Linked DNA regions of Homo sapiens: region 1 is linked to region 2. Evidence: promoter capture Hi-C in human tissues and cell types (Jung and others, 2019). All regions are on one chromosome and are shown on one strand. Each heading gives the region's core, a stretch centred on a gene start or on the middle of the fragment in contact. The rest is flanking DNA. Distances are from core to core; before and after follow the strand shown.

Region 1 (7,166 bases), core at 8-2,507, 750 kb after region 2:
ATGGAAAAAAGGTAACTTACAAGAATTATGTTTTAAAGACATTGCAGGGCTGTGAAAACTGTGAAGAACAGATGAACTAAAATTCGAGAGAGTGGAGGACTACTCAGTTGAGATGACCATCGCAAGCCATTTTATTATTTAAAAACTTGTTGGATGTTTAGCAACAGATGGGTCACGGCAGATGAAAGGAATTAGTGGCCTAGAAGTCATGTTAATAAAAATACACTCAAACCTAAGCACAGGGAGAAAAAAAGGATAAAAAAAATGCGTGAGAGAGAAGTGAGAACTACTTAAATATGTGTATAAATGGCTTCTAGAATAAAGGGAGAGAGAATGTCAGAGATAATAACTAAGCATTTTCCAAAATTGAAGAAAGACATTAATCCACAGATTCAAGAAGCTTAGCATGCCCCAAGCTGTATAAACACATAGATAACTACATGTAGGCACATAGTTATCAAACTTTTAAATTAAATGTATGATCAGGATTTTAGAGGCATTGGGAAAAGAGAAAAGAAAAACAAATTCAAAGAAACAGAAATGACTTACATCTGATTTGTCAAAGGAAATTAGAGAAGCCAGAAGAAAATGGAGTATTGTCTCTGTAGGCCCAAATGGTGGAGGGGGAGGGGAAGTGAAAATATTCTTCAAAGATGAAGGCAAAATAAAAATATTTTCAGAAAAGCAGCAACCCAAAATATTAATTGCCAGTAGGTCTTTACTGTAGGAAATACTCAAGGGACTTCTTCAGGCAAAAGAAAATGACCCCAGAAGGATAACTCAAAAGGCAGGAGTGAAAAAAAAAAAAAAAGAAGAATACCAGAAAAGATATGTATGTGAGTAAATAAGCAAATATTATATATAAATATATATGTGGGTATGCAAGTATATATTGGCTGTAGAAAACAGTTATAATGATGTCTTTTGAAGTTTCAAATACATTTACAACTAATATATATAAAATAACGAATAAAAGAGAAAGGCATCAACTGAGTTTAAAAGGTCTAAAAGTATTTGGGAAGTGGGAAAGTTAGAAATCTGTATTAGATTCTAATAAGTCACATCATAAATTCTAGGGTAACTATTAAAAGAAAACAAGAGTGTGTATAACTAACAAATTAGAGAAGGGGAAATAGAATATAGAATAATAAATGTTTAGTTAACCTATAAGGAGACAAAAAAACAAAAACTAAAGTAACATAAAATAGATGACCAAAAATGGAGGAAAAAAGCTAGCAAGATGGTAGGTACAAGCCCTACAATATCTGTAATTACATTAAATGTAAGTGGACTAAATAAGCAAAAGAATAAGATTGTCAAACTGGATAAAAAGTAAAACTTCACAATATGCTGTTAATAAGAGATGTACTTTAAATACAAAGATCAGAAAATTTAAGAATAAAAGGATGAAAACACATAATGTAAGAACTAACTGAATAAAATTTTGGGTAGCTATACTTATATTGGAATATTTGGACTTTAAAGGGACAAACTTCATTGGGGATAATCAGGGACATTTCATAATGATAAGGAAATCATTATAAAATGAGGTAATCACACTTTTAAATCTGTGTGTACCCCATTGCATAATTTCAACACACATAAAACAAAAAAATGACAGAAATGAAAGGATCCATGGAAAAATCCATAGTCATAGGGAGACTGTGATGAATTAAGGTACAAATTGTAAACCTAATAGTAAGGATTAGCAAATTTTTCTATCAAGAGCCAGATAGCAAATATTTTTGTTTTTGCAGGCAATATGATCACTGTCACACCACTCAGGTCTACTGTTGTGGTACAAAAGCACCTATTGACGATAAATAAATAAATGGGTGTAGTGGTATTCCAATAAAAGTTTACTTATAAAAACAGCACACACATACACAACACACGCACACAGTTAATAAACCAACAACAGAGATCATAAAGTAGTAGAAATCAGAAAGAGCACTCAATTCATCCAAAAGAAGGCACAAAAAACACGTGACCAAACAACAACAAAAAACCAAAAAACCTCATACAACTAGCTTATCACTAATGAAAGTGATATTTTGAGCTCCATTTTCATGTTTCCTGTGTCTACCTCTCAATTATTTTAGATACCAGGTGGAGAAAAATGAAGTATTGTTTATTGACTTCCTAAAGCACCAAAGTTTATGAATCTCAAATTGAATTCAGCCCCTTTACTTTCACATGCCCACCCTCCCCCAAACACACACACAAGCACACACACAAATCCTACTCACAGAAGTATTTTCATGTACAGAAAAGTTTGCTGAAAGTTTAGGGAAATAAAGAGAAGGTTTTACATTATAGCCACATGTGAACTTCAGATTACATATTAGACATGCTTCTTCTTAAACGTCCTTTGGCAGTGTTCTTCTCCCAGCTAGGGTAGAATAGATCATGGGGGACAGTAATCTCATTGAGAAGAACTAGAACTAGTAAGTAAAATAATTTTATATGTGAAGGGTTAGCAAACTATGGCCCACAGGCCCATTCTAGCCATGCCTATTTTTTGTGTGCCTGATGGCTGTTTGGTGTTTTGCACGCAGTTGAGCCATTGTGACAGAGGCTGTTATAGCCTTCAAAGCCAAAAAAAAAAATTTACTCTCTGGCCTTGACGGGAAAGTTTGCTGATTCTAGATATTTAAAGGCAGAGAAGATCAGAAGTGTTGAAGACTAAAAGGTATATACTTTCAGAGAGGGAAGAAATATTCAGAGAAAAGTTGAGGAAATACAGCTGGTCCTGGGGGCATTTGTTGATTCTTGGTGAAGGTGAGTGTGGGGATCCAGGTTTGGCTTGGGTAGAGAATCCCGGATGGAGGACAAATAAATCAGCAGAGATTTTGGTGGTCACATGGGACAGAAGCAACAATATTGGCAAGCTGAGGAGCATCTTGCCCTGGATTCCAGAGGTGGGTGCAGCATAAGGCTAAAGACTAAGCTAAAGCCTTGCAAAGCAAAACTTCCCATTGCATGGGAGACAAAGCCCCACGGAGGGAGGAAACCTGCTAACATCTGGTGAGAATCTGAAGCCCTAGATTAATAATCAGTTAGCATTGGTGAGCCACAACTCTTTTACCCTAAGACAACTTGCTTATCAGAGACATCATGAATGGAGAATCCATGCTAGGACCTTAGTGAAGGCTTATTGTTAGAGGACAGAGAAAAAAGTCCTCTAACAGTTAGTACATCCTTTGGTGGGGGTAAATGACTAGAAGGGGACAAAACGGGTTACGTGTTGATAATGTTTCTATTTCATAGTCTGAGTGTCTTCATTGTGTAAAAATTCATTGACTGTACAATTTGGATTTGTGCACTTTAGGGTATGTTATATTTCAATTAAATTTTCCCAAAAAATAATTCCTTAGACTAACCATCCTTACTTTTCCTCTATCCACAATTTCTATGAGTTTCCAAGATAAAACAGTTTAGTTACATCTTTTGGCTACTTGACTCCCACTAACCCACACCTTCAAAATCTTACCTTATACCACAAGACACTTACTGATTTAATTTCCTAAATGCAGTTTCTTTTTAAAAAATAATTGTGGATTGTGATTAAAATAATTTATTTTCACCCCTCTTTAGAAGTAATGGCCATATTGTATTATGTGTGGGTCAGATTAGCAGAATATCACAATTTAAGAAGAACATGGAGAAATTGGAACATGCCCAGAGGAGGGCAAATAGCAAGATAAAAGTATATGGGAATTATGTTGCATGTGAAACATTTTTAGCTAATGGGGATTTTCTAACTGAAACATAACAGATTAGATTCAGAGGGGTAGTACAATCAATGCTTTCAAACCCATAATATATTTTGTAAAAGAATAATTCATTTTATTCTAAGTATTTTGATGTCAGAGTAGGGATAAATGGTTGGCCATTACATGGTAGTTTCCCTTGAATGTTCCATTATCATTTATTAAAAAAGGTTATGTTATTCATTCACTAATTGAACAGAAATTTACTGCATGATGAATACATGATAATTTCTGCTGCCAAGGAGGTCATAGTCGCGTATGGAAGACAGGTCTAAATGATTATATAAGAAGGTAAAGATTCACATAATCACATCAAGAGGTGACATTGGAGCTCAGAAGAGAGTGAGATGGGTGAAGAGAAGGAAGTGAAGAGGTGAGTTCAAAAGCAGAACTCAAGGGTCTTCTCACCCCCAAACCTGCTCTCCATTCTATTTACTGTATAGAAAGGAACAACCTCGCCATCCACTCAGTTACTCAAGGTGGTAGCCTGAGAGCCTACCATGATCTCACCCTCTCCTGCACCCTCACATCTAAACCCAGCAGCCTCTCATTTCTATGGATCCTAGCACAAAACATTTCTAAAAGATATGTTTTCATTCCTGTTACCACTGCTATGTTTAGAACCCTGTGTCCCGTACCTGAATAGTTATGTGACATCCTAACTGTTCTCCTGCCTTCAGCCTTGGCCCCCTCAAATCTGAGCTCACACGGACCGTAGGGTTACTTTTCTAAAATAAAAATCAGGTCATATAAATGTCCTGCTTCAAGTCCTTCATAGACTCTTAGAGGTTAGAAAACCCCTCACTCTGTGGCATAGGATGTGAGGCCCTTCCCTCTTTTACTCTTGCCCATCCATTCAGCTCATCTCAGACCAGCTACACATTTTTACATGCCCCACATTCTAATAACACTGACCCATTGTAGTGACTCTGCACTCTACTCAGTCTCACACATCCACATCTGTATTCTCTATTTCCCTTTATCCAAAAGCCCCCTCCTCAGCTCGCCCACCTGAGAAGGCTTCTCCCCTCCATGCCTTAGCTTTAACCTCAATCCTGTAAGTCCTTCTGGGCCCCTGCCCTTGGAAGAGAGACAGCATCTTTATTTGTGCATTCACTTTTTTTCTGCAGATCTCTAAAATAATTTCCAGCTTCACCTCTCTTCTCACCAGGCTTTGAGCTCCTGAGAAGCATGAACAAGGATGTGTAACATCGTGGTTAAGAATGTAACTTCTAGTCAGGTGGCCTGGATTTGAATTCTGGCTCTATTTTCTCTTAGCTGTGTATCTTTGGTTTGTTTATGGCTTTGAGCCTCAGTTTCTTTGTCTGCACAACAACCAGATGAAGAATCACCTGTAAAGTGCTTAGAGCAGAGCCTGACACATAGTAATTCCATAGTAAAAGTGATCTATTATTACTATTGTAACTACTATTATCTCTGCATGGGGAGTGTGTTACCAAGAAGATAGTATATAGGAGGTCCTTAATAAATATTTAATGCATGTTTTCCAACTTTACACTTTGCAAGAAAACTATGTTAGAACACATGCATGCACGCACACACATACAGCCCTGGGGACTAGAAGATGAGAAATTTACCTGTCATATATATTTCTTCTATCATAGCAATCTGTTTCTAGTTCTCAAAGGGGAAGGTTGTCCTCATAGCCCAGTCTCTCAGTCCTATAATCTTACTGCTGCAGCATTTTAGGAGGAATTCAGTACTTTAAATCAAAGAGGTAGCTATAGAGCTACCTTGGTGACATTTATCCATAAAGCAATAACAGGTGGGAAGAAACTTGGAGATGAAAATCTGAACCCACAGCAGCCATTTGACTGCTCTGTTTAGGAGCAAGTTTTCACATAACTCTAATCAATGCTATGCTCCAACCCAGAAGTATTAAAAACTATCTTCTAAGCAAAAACTATTTACTGTCAGCTTTTATAACATTAGAATTTGATACAAAAAGTTGTATAATGCAGTCTTTTTAATGACCTATTTTGGGCCTGTCCTTGTCACTTTGCCACACCAACACCATCTAAGCCTTATTATATGCTAAGATTTTTTTCTTTTATTCCTGGATTCTGAAAAAATTGGTTTGAGCTGCAGAGTACTTCTTTCTTTATATTTCTAAGGAAGCTTTCATAACATGGTAGCCAAATTATGTGAAAAATGTATCCCTGTGGTGATGTCATTTTCAAGGGAAAACATACTTGGGATATGAAGTATTCCCATCAGGAATCTCCGAGATCTCACATCTGTACTCTTAACCCCAAGAGGTTATCAAATGATAGTAGTTGATTGTAAAAGGGATGACTTCTAATGGGGTGTTGGCAGGCAGGCTGGCCAACAGTCAGAGGTCACTGCACAAATATTTATAGAGGAAGTGAAGGCTTCATTTTTGCTTTCACTATCAGACAGCTCTCACAAATGTGCAAAGAAAGACTAATGCTTGGGATTAAGATACCCTTGTACATAGGAAAATCCAGAAATCGATAGCTTGTTGGTAGAGTCTTACATGGTGTCAAATGCCAGCCTCTAATTATTCAGTGTAGGCCACCTAAAGGAGTTTCATAATAAAGAGAAAATGTCCCTAAATAAATAAACAAAGCCAGATGAAGAAGTTTGAAGAAAAATGCATCACCTGCCCAAATAGAACATGAAGAATCCTTTAAGAATATGTAGACAATAATTACAAAGCTGCATGGAAACATTTATTTCTTGATGACTTTAAGATGGTTGCCAATATCTAAAAGTAGAGACACTTTTTAATTCCTTTCAGACCAAAGATGTATTATGGCAAGTCCTGTGATCTCCTATTCATTCCCAGAGCAAGATATGAATGATCATTAGTACAATTAGATGACAAAATTGGAAAAGTACAAGTGGATACTCAGGTGGTCTTTTAGTTGGTTCATCGGGGAAGCAACATGGGGTGGCAGCTAGGACACAGGCTTTGCAGCAAAAATGACTCAAGTCAGAAGCCTGTCTCCACTTCTTGTTAAGTCTGCAAATTTCTTAACTTCTCTAAACTCCGTTCTCATCTTTTGTAAAATGGAGACAATCCTTAGGGTCATTGTGAGGATTAAATGAGATCATGACCATGAAACCTTTAGCACGTTTCCTAGCATTCAAACATTATTCCAAAATATTAGTTACTGTACTATGGAATGAGTGACGAGAGGAAGGGGTCACCTTTTGTTTCATTCATTTCACAGAGTGCAACCTGATTTTTCAGTGAGTGTTGACAAGTCTTCTCAGGGATCAGTGTCAATGTTTTCAAGCCTCATAGGAGAGCCAGAAGAACCCAGACACAGACTTACCAGCTATAAAGTAGGAGAAAGGCCTATTAAAGCCAAGAACTGTCTAACACCAAATGCTGTGAGTCTGGCT
Region 2 (7,399 bases), core at 2,843-5,342:
CTAGAGTGTATTTCAAAGACTTAGTACCCCCCAAAATGCAAAACAGTTTTTATATTGATTACATGTTGAAAAAATAATTTTAGTATATTAAATACATTAATAAAATTAACTTCACCAGTTTCTTTTTCCTTTTTAAATATGGCTACTAGAAAATTCAAACATACATGTGGCTCACATTATCTATTTCTGTTGAACAGGACTGTTCTAGAAAAAGTCTTAAAGGCCTACCCTCCTACTGATGACCCAGAGACTGTCCCTGCCCAGTCACTGCTACTGTTGACCTTGGCTCCTGCCCAGGGATGGAGGCTCTCAACTGGGCTGGTTCTACATGGAGGTAAATGGAAAAGTAGAGCTTTAGACTCCTCTCCTCCCCAGATCACCACTAATATTCACAATGCTAGGGCAATCATAGAACGAAAATAAAAATTCCAGAGAAAGCATGTGTCCTAAGAGGACAAACTTACAAATACAGTTCTGGAATTCAGCAAAGAGGTGAAGCAAAGAAGGTTAGGTGAAGTAGCGCTGTTGTTCTTTGAACAGCTTTAACCAGCGTCAGTCCAGCAGTTTCCCCGACAAGAGAAAAGAACCCCTCAATACAGAAAAGAAACAAAGTGTCTGGGCCCTAGCATTTCAAGAAGGCAGCTTTGTCCTTGTTCTGCTTGGCTCAAAAGACCTCCATCCCTCCCTTTAAAAAATAAATTATGTCTTTTCAATTATAAACTGAACAAAACCACATTATAAAAAGTCTAGAAAATAAGAAAAATAAGTATTATTCCATTGCCTTGTTCCCACCACTTAACACATTGGTGCCTTTTCTTCTGTTTTTTTTTTTCTTCTACACATAAGGCTTCTTTTTATCATAGTTATAGTCTTGTGAATGCACTGTTTTGTATCTCACTGTTACTTAACATTTTATCATCAATGGTTTTCATATTATTACATGAGTAGAGATGCTTTGTAGGCAGAGAAAGGTGGCTGACTGAGTCTAATACTCACGGGGAAGAGCATTCTAGTTTGACCACTTAGAAAAGGAACTGCTAATTTGGAAGATCTTGTTAGCATAATTTATTTTGTCACTTTTAAGACAGCCCACCAAGAGGCAGTATATTGTGGTACTTAAAGACTGGCTCTGAGGCTGGGCGCAGTGGCTCATGTCTATAATCCCAGTGCTTTGGGATGCCAAGGCAGGAGGATCACTTTAAGCCAGGAGTTCAAGACCAGCCTGGGCAACAAAGCAAGACCCCATCTCTACAAAAAATAAATTAGCTGGGTGTGGTGGTATGTGCATGTAGTCCCAGCTACCAGGGAGGCTGAGGTAGGAGGATCGCTTGAGCCCATGAGTTTGAAGCTGCAGTGAGTTGTGATCCCACCACTACACTCCAGCCTGGTCAACAGAGTAAGACCCTGTCTCAAAAAAAAAAAAAAAAAAAAAAAAGACAGGCCCTGGAGTTTGAAATCTTGGCTCTGCTACTTGCAACCTATGTGAATTCAGGATATTTACTAACATCTTGGTGTCTCTGTTTTCTCATCCTTAACATGGGAATGATAGTTATAATACCTACTTCACAGTGCCAGTGTAAGGATTAAGTGTATACTACTTAGAATAGCAGACCTCGGTTCATTCAAAGCCAGTTGTGAGACTGTCAACAAGTCATTTAGCATCGCTGCATTTGAGTTTCTTTATCCATAAAATGTCTACTTAATAATTAGAGCTACAATTTACAGAATGCTTATTGTATGTAACGGGGCCTTGAAGTACTTATTTGTCCCATTTTACTGATGAGGAAACCGAGGCTGAGGAATTAACTAACTTGTTCAAAAGTGACAGAGTTGGTTGGGGTGGAGTCAGCATTAGGGCAAAAATCCATCTGATTCCAATTCCTTGTTTTCCCTATACATGCTCTTTTAGGCTCCCAGTCTCAACTATGGGTCTACGAACTTCAGAAAACAGCCCTTTTCAGTTAGTTTCAGCTGCCAGTAGGCGGCTCCAAAAAATATTAAAAAAAAAAAAAAAACCCGCAAGTTTGATGATCTAACTTCTAAATCTGTGTACAGTTGTGGCTCCTTCACAGTTTCAGGAAATCAGGTGGCTAAACGTACCGTCATTGAAAAGCAGCTTCAGAATTATCCTTCTTTTTATCCCACCCTCTTCCACTACTTTAAAAACGTGCAGATTCTAGTAATTTAAAATGGGTTTTGAACTGGAGAAAAACCAAGCCAAGAAAGTTATCTCTGCTTGTTCCACTTATATGAAGACTAGATTCAAGTAATTTAAAATGGATTTTGAACTGCAGAAAAAACCAAGCCAAAAAAGTTGTCTTTGCTTGTTCCACTTATGTGAAGACTGTTCAACTAGTGTGCAAGGGAGGTTATTCCCCCAGGGATCCACCCCTGTCTGCCCCTAAGGCTGAAAGACAGTGGACAAAGACAAGAGTAAGTGGTAATTCATAGCCTGATAATCTTGAATTTTGAAAGCAGACATCAGAGGAAGCAATGGCAGGAAAGAACAAAAGATAGGATGAGAAAACAAGACCTTGGTCACAGAAATTAGTAAGGTCCTGGTTCCAGGCAGGGGCCTTTTAAAATTATGCTGCCAGTTCAGAATTACACTGATTGCGACTTAAAAGCTTCCCAGTGCTTTTCACATCTGCAAATGAAAATGTATTTCAATTACCAGGCTGGTGATTTCAGTATCGTGGGGGAACTCATTATGACTTCTGTTCAGTGACCCCAAGGGTCACATTGTTCCCCCTTTTCCCAAAACTATTGTGCATTGAGAAAAGGCTTTTTTAGCAATAGATGCCCAAGTCCTTGGGAGTCACAGTTGTAAAGAGGCTCTTCCTTAATCCACTCTGTATTGGAATTAACCTACTGAGCAGATATAATCAGAAAATACAAGCAAAACAGACTCTCCAGGTAAAATTCAGCTGCCACTTTGAAATACAAACACCATTTCCTTTTATTAATTGGCTGTGTGGCCTTGAGCAACTTAATCTCTCTGTGCCTCGGGTTTCCTATGTGTAAGATAGCCGGGCCTATTTCATATAAGGTTATTATGAGAATCAACTGGGGCGATAAAGCAAAGCCCCCAGCATAGTATATGGCACATACTCAGCGCTCAGTAAGCGTGAGCGATCCAAAGGATCTAAATGTTAAGGGCCAAGGAGAGCGCTCTTTCCACAGGTGCAAAGTCAGGTAGCGAAGACTGAGTTCAAGCCAGGTCAAGCAAGGGACAGGCCGCGGACAGGCGGGGGCCGGTGGCCGGGTCACGGAGCAGGTTCCCCATAGCCGCAGGGCCTCCGGAACTCGGAGGGCAGGCGCAGGGGACGGGATCGCAGGGCGGGGACAGAGCGCCGGGCCACAAGCCCAAGCGCCGCTGTCTTCGGAGATGCGTCCCGGGGGTGGCCGCGGGAGCCCCGACGCCGAGTCCCGAAGGGGCGGCCCCATCCAACGGCCGAGAGCAGGCGGAGGAGGAGGAGTGGAGGGGAGTGAGGAGGGGTGAGAGGAGGAGGTCCCGCCGCGGCCAAGAAAACAAGCCACGCTCGGGGGAGGAGGCAGAGACCAAACTCCCAACCGCCGCCCAGCGCCGGGGCCAGGCCGGGCCCTTGTCCGCGCCGCCGCCGCCTCTGTCAGCCTCTGTCCGCGCCCTGGGCCCCGGGGGCCGCCGAGGACCGACCCACTGGGTGGGCGGCCGGGCCCGGCGGCGGCGAGGGGAGGCAGCGAGGGGGCTCGGTGAACGCGCAACCGGCGCCCCGAAGGCAGGGCGCGCGGCCGGCCCCGCCGGGCTCAGGAGCGGGCAGCGCTGCGGCCCCAACCGGCAGCGAGGCGGCCCTGGACGGACGCCCGCCCGCCCCCCCCCGGCACTTACGTGGGCCCGGGCCGTGCGGGGCTGCGCGGGGAAGGGAGCGGCCGCCGGCTCGGCGGGGAAGGACGCGGGCGGGGCGGGACTGCTGAGGTAGCTGCGGTGGGGCCGGGCTGCGCTGCACCTCGTTCAGGTACCCAGACGGCAGGCGCGGGGCCGGCTCCAGCCCTCGGGTCGCTGCGCCCAGGCCGGCCAGTCCAAGTCCTTTTGTTGTTGTGCAGCGCTCGCAACAGCTGATCGGCCGCTCCGCTCGCCGTCGGGCCCCGCTGCCCCGCCCCGGGCCGCGCCAGGCCGGGCCCCACCAATCGGCGGTGCGGGGGCCCCGGGGCCGCCCTGCGAGAGGTTGTCACCAACGCACGTGACCTGGCGCCCGGCCGGCGGCGCGCTCAGCTCCGAAACAAGCCCGGGCAACAAAAACCGGGAGCTGAGCGTGAAGGCCTGGGCGAGCGGAAGGGTGGGAGAGAGGGGCTAGGCCGGGGAGGGAAGCGCTGGGGCCGGGGCCGGCTTTCCAGGAGCCGGCGGGAGCGGGGTGCGTAAGAGGCGGGCGAGGAAGAACCGGCGGGCAACGGGAAGGGCAGAGGTGGATCTCTCCCTCAGCGACCCCTCTCGCCGAGTGAAGGGTCGAGGGTTTGGGGCACAAAGGGCGCAGAACGTTTTTTCCTGTGAGAGGAACATTAAGACTCCTGGGAGGGCTGGGGCTAACGCCTCCGAGAGCCCCACCTGGTCAGCCTAGGGTTAGACGTGTAGCCAGGGTGCTGGGAGGGGGCCGCTGCTGGGCCCCAGATAGAGGGGTAGAGGCCGCTCAATCACGGAGCCAGGCCCCACCTGCTGTAGAAACCGCCACCGAGAGCCGGCCGGGCTTGCTGCACGCTCTGGATTCCGCCTGCCTATAGGCGAGGCACAAGGGACTGCGAGACCAGGCCTGAAGGCAGAGAGGTCAGCAGGCTCGGGGGCCTCTGCTCCAGCGGACAACAAGCGCACCGGGCGGGAACGGCCGCCTCCCCAGGCGCTGCAGCCTAGCTCTCATGTGACCCACGGAACTTAGCCCCTCTGTTCTGTTTGCATACCTGCAAATTGTGGGCATTCACGCCGGGACTGCCAACTCACCAGGTTATTTATAGTGACAAGAGAGTGAGACAGTGGGCTTGAAAGTGTTTTCCAGACCAAGGCTCTGTCCCACATATAGGTGGATTAACTGTCTGGCAAAGGCAGGTGAGTAACGTTGATGCCTATCAGCTCTCATGTGGATACTGTTTGGACTGGGATGTAGTTCTTTGACCTGGGGTGAGCTGTATAGCAACCCTGGAGGGATGCCTATCACACATTACAGTATCTGAAAGACACTCACATTCTGACCCTCACAATGTAGTCAGTCCATTTCCAACAATGCTGGTTTTAAAGGATGTAAATTGCAGTGCAGGGAGTTGTCAGACACCAAGGAGTAATGATCAAAATATGATGGTCATTGGACCTTATCTTGGGAGAAAGAGCTAAAACTGTGTTCTAGATAGTCTCACAGACTTGAACATGCTTTGGATTTTAGGTTTTTGCAAATCAGGCTTGTTCTAATATTTTCTCCCACATGCTATGGTAGGAGCCCCATGATCTCTTGTTTCTCCCTAGGAATCCATTGAAGAGGCCATCTCCACATTCAGAACCAAGGTATGATGACAATTACAAGGGGCTAATTTTTAAAAAGAAAAAGGCCTACCTTTTTCCAGTTTGATAAGGTTTATCATGGTTAAAGCAACATGTGAAATCATCATCTTGTTATGATAGAAAAATTCAATATGAAGTAGATCATTTTTCCAAAGATGACCACAACAGTATCTCCATCATGAAGTGGGTGTATTTTTCTTCCCTTTGAATCTGGGCTGACCCTGTGATTGCTCTGACCAATAGAATGTGGCAGAAAGAATGTTCTAGGACTTCCAAGCCTCGTCATTAAGCAAAAGCATTAAGCAAACCCCACAGCTTCTGCTTTGTACTCTGGAAAATGCCAGCCACCCATGAGGAGAGACCACCCTGCTAGCCACAGGGAGAGGCTATGTGAAAAGAAAGAGATGCCTGGCCAGCTCTAGCTCTTCAGCTCATCCCAGCTGAGCTACCAGACACATGAGTGGAAAAGCCCTTAGGAAGTTCCAGCTCCAGCAGACACCATACTGAACAGAGGAGAGATAAGCCATCCCCACGGAGCACTGCCAAAATGACGGCATTGTGAACAAATAAATGATCATTGTTTTAAGGCACTAAATGTTGGGGTAGTTTTTAAAGCAGCGATAACCAAAACACAAAGCTAACAGAAATGCCCATCACAGATCAGTGACTCTAAACTCTACCAAATAGTGTTTGTGATGAAAACATCTTGTCTCAGGAGTCACTTGCTTTCTGTTTACTCTCTTGCTGATTTATAATCTTCCCACCTGGTGCTTGTTTATTCCCAGTGGTGCACCAAGGAGGGCGTGCCTCAGGGCAGCATAGGTGAAGTCTGTCCCTAGGAGGGAGGAGTACTTTACCACGACATTGTTTGGAACTGTTGGAGCATAATAATAAAAAGCAAACTGACTTTTAGTCAATTTTATTTTAAAATTCTTTGCAGACACACAAATTTACTGTGTACTGCCTGTATCTGGGGTGGATCACTCCCACTGCCTCCCTTCCTGGTATGCCACTGGTTTACATAAATGCATGCAGTGAAACTCAGGAGTAATGTCATCTCCATAGCGTAGAGCTGTCTGAACACAACCAAACTGTCAAATTACACAAATGCAAGCAAGCTTTTCATCTGTTCACTGACAAAGACCCAGCCAGGTTCCCTGCCTGGGCAGATCCAGTGAATCCAACCATCCTTTAATTCACAGAATAATTCTTAGCGTGTTGCTATAGTACCCACTTCCAGGCTGACCCCCTGCTGTGGGGGTGACCCTTTCCCCATCTGTCAGAGTTCTCCTGTCTGTTTTCCATGGAGCTCAATACGCTCCCTTATCTACCCTAACAAAAGGGATTCAACCTCAAGTTTTGTTTGGAAGACTCACAGTGCAGGACCACATTCACACCAACAAACAGATACAATGCAACTAATGCCTCTGCCTCCTGCTTATGAAAGCAGGCTGTGGCCATAACCCTGCCAGTTGCATCGAGGCTGCTAAAGAATGTTGTTTCCTACCAACCCATAGGATGGCTACTTGGGGCAGCCTCAGAACACAAAGCAACAAGTTGTTCTGTCTGTACTGAGGAGAATGGCAAAGTGAAGTCCACTTAGGTCGTTTTCTATCTACCCATCAACAGTTAGGATCTGCTGGGCTTCTACCATGGACACAGCATGTTGCCAAGTGTCTGGGAAAGACAAGAATTTTTTTAAATTGCATTTTAGATAAACAATCACTTAGCATTCCAGTGACATCTATTGTCTTAAGGGAAGAAAGGATCTGACTGGGTCTCCAGAAAGCCTGGAACAAAGAAGCAAGAGATTCTGTGATTTCTGCTTTCTGAAATAAAAACAGAAAACAGGCGTTTAACTGGGCTGCCAGTTACCAT

What was found. Contacts are between HindIII fragments. The study calls those that stand out against the background at their distance.
Region 1: a contact is called between a fragment that was not itself captured here and the fragment with the promoter of TP53INP1 in region 2, in 1 of the 25 tissues and cell types used here (lymphoblastoid cells).

What each region holds. Positions count from the first base shown.
Region 1 is chr8:95,696,548-95,703,713 of GRCh38, forward strand. All of the region lies in intron 3 of CFAP418-AS1 (CFAP418 antisense RNA 1), which reads left to right. Among named protein-coding and RNA genes, the nearest start is that of TRS-AGA2-5, 430 kb to the left of the region's middle. The HindIII fragment of the contact is 3,797 bases long and covers 1-3,156 here.
Region 2 is chr8:94,945,286-94,952,684 of GRCh38, forward strand. It overlaps TP53INP1 (tumor protein p53 inducible nuclear protein 1), which reads right to left and starts at 4,093. Exons shown (of 4, transcript NM_033285.4): 1 at 3,869-4,093. It also overlaps a transcript of NDUFAF6 not described here. RefSeq lists enhancers at 3,434-4,062, 4,063-4,692, 4,559-4,728, 4,899-4,948 and silencers at 3,509-3,648, 3,869-4,248, 4,329-4,438. The HindIII fragment of the contact is 13,226 bases long and covers 1-7,399 here.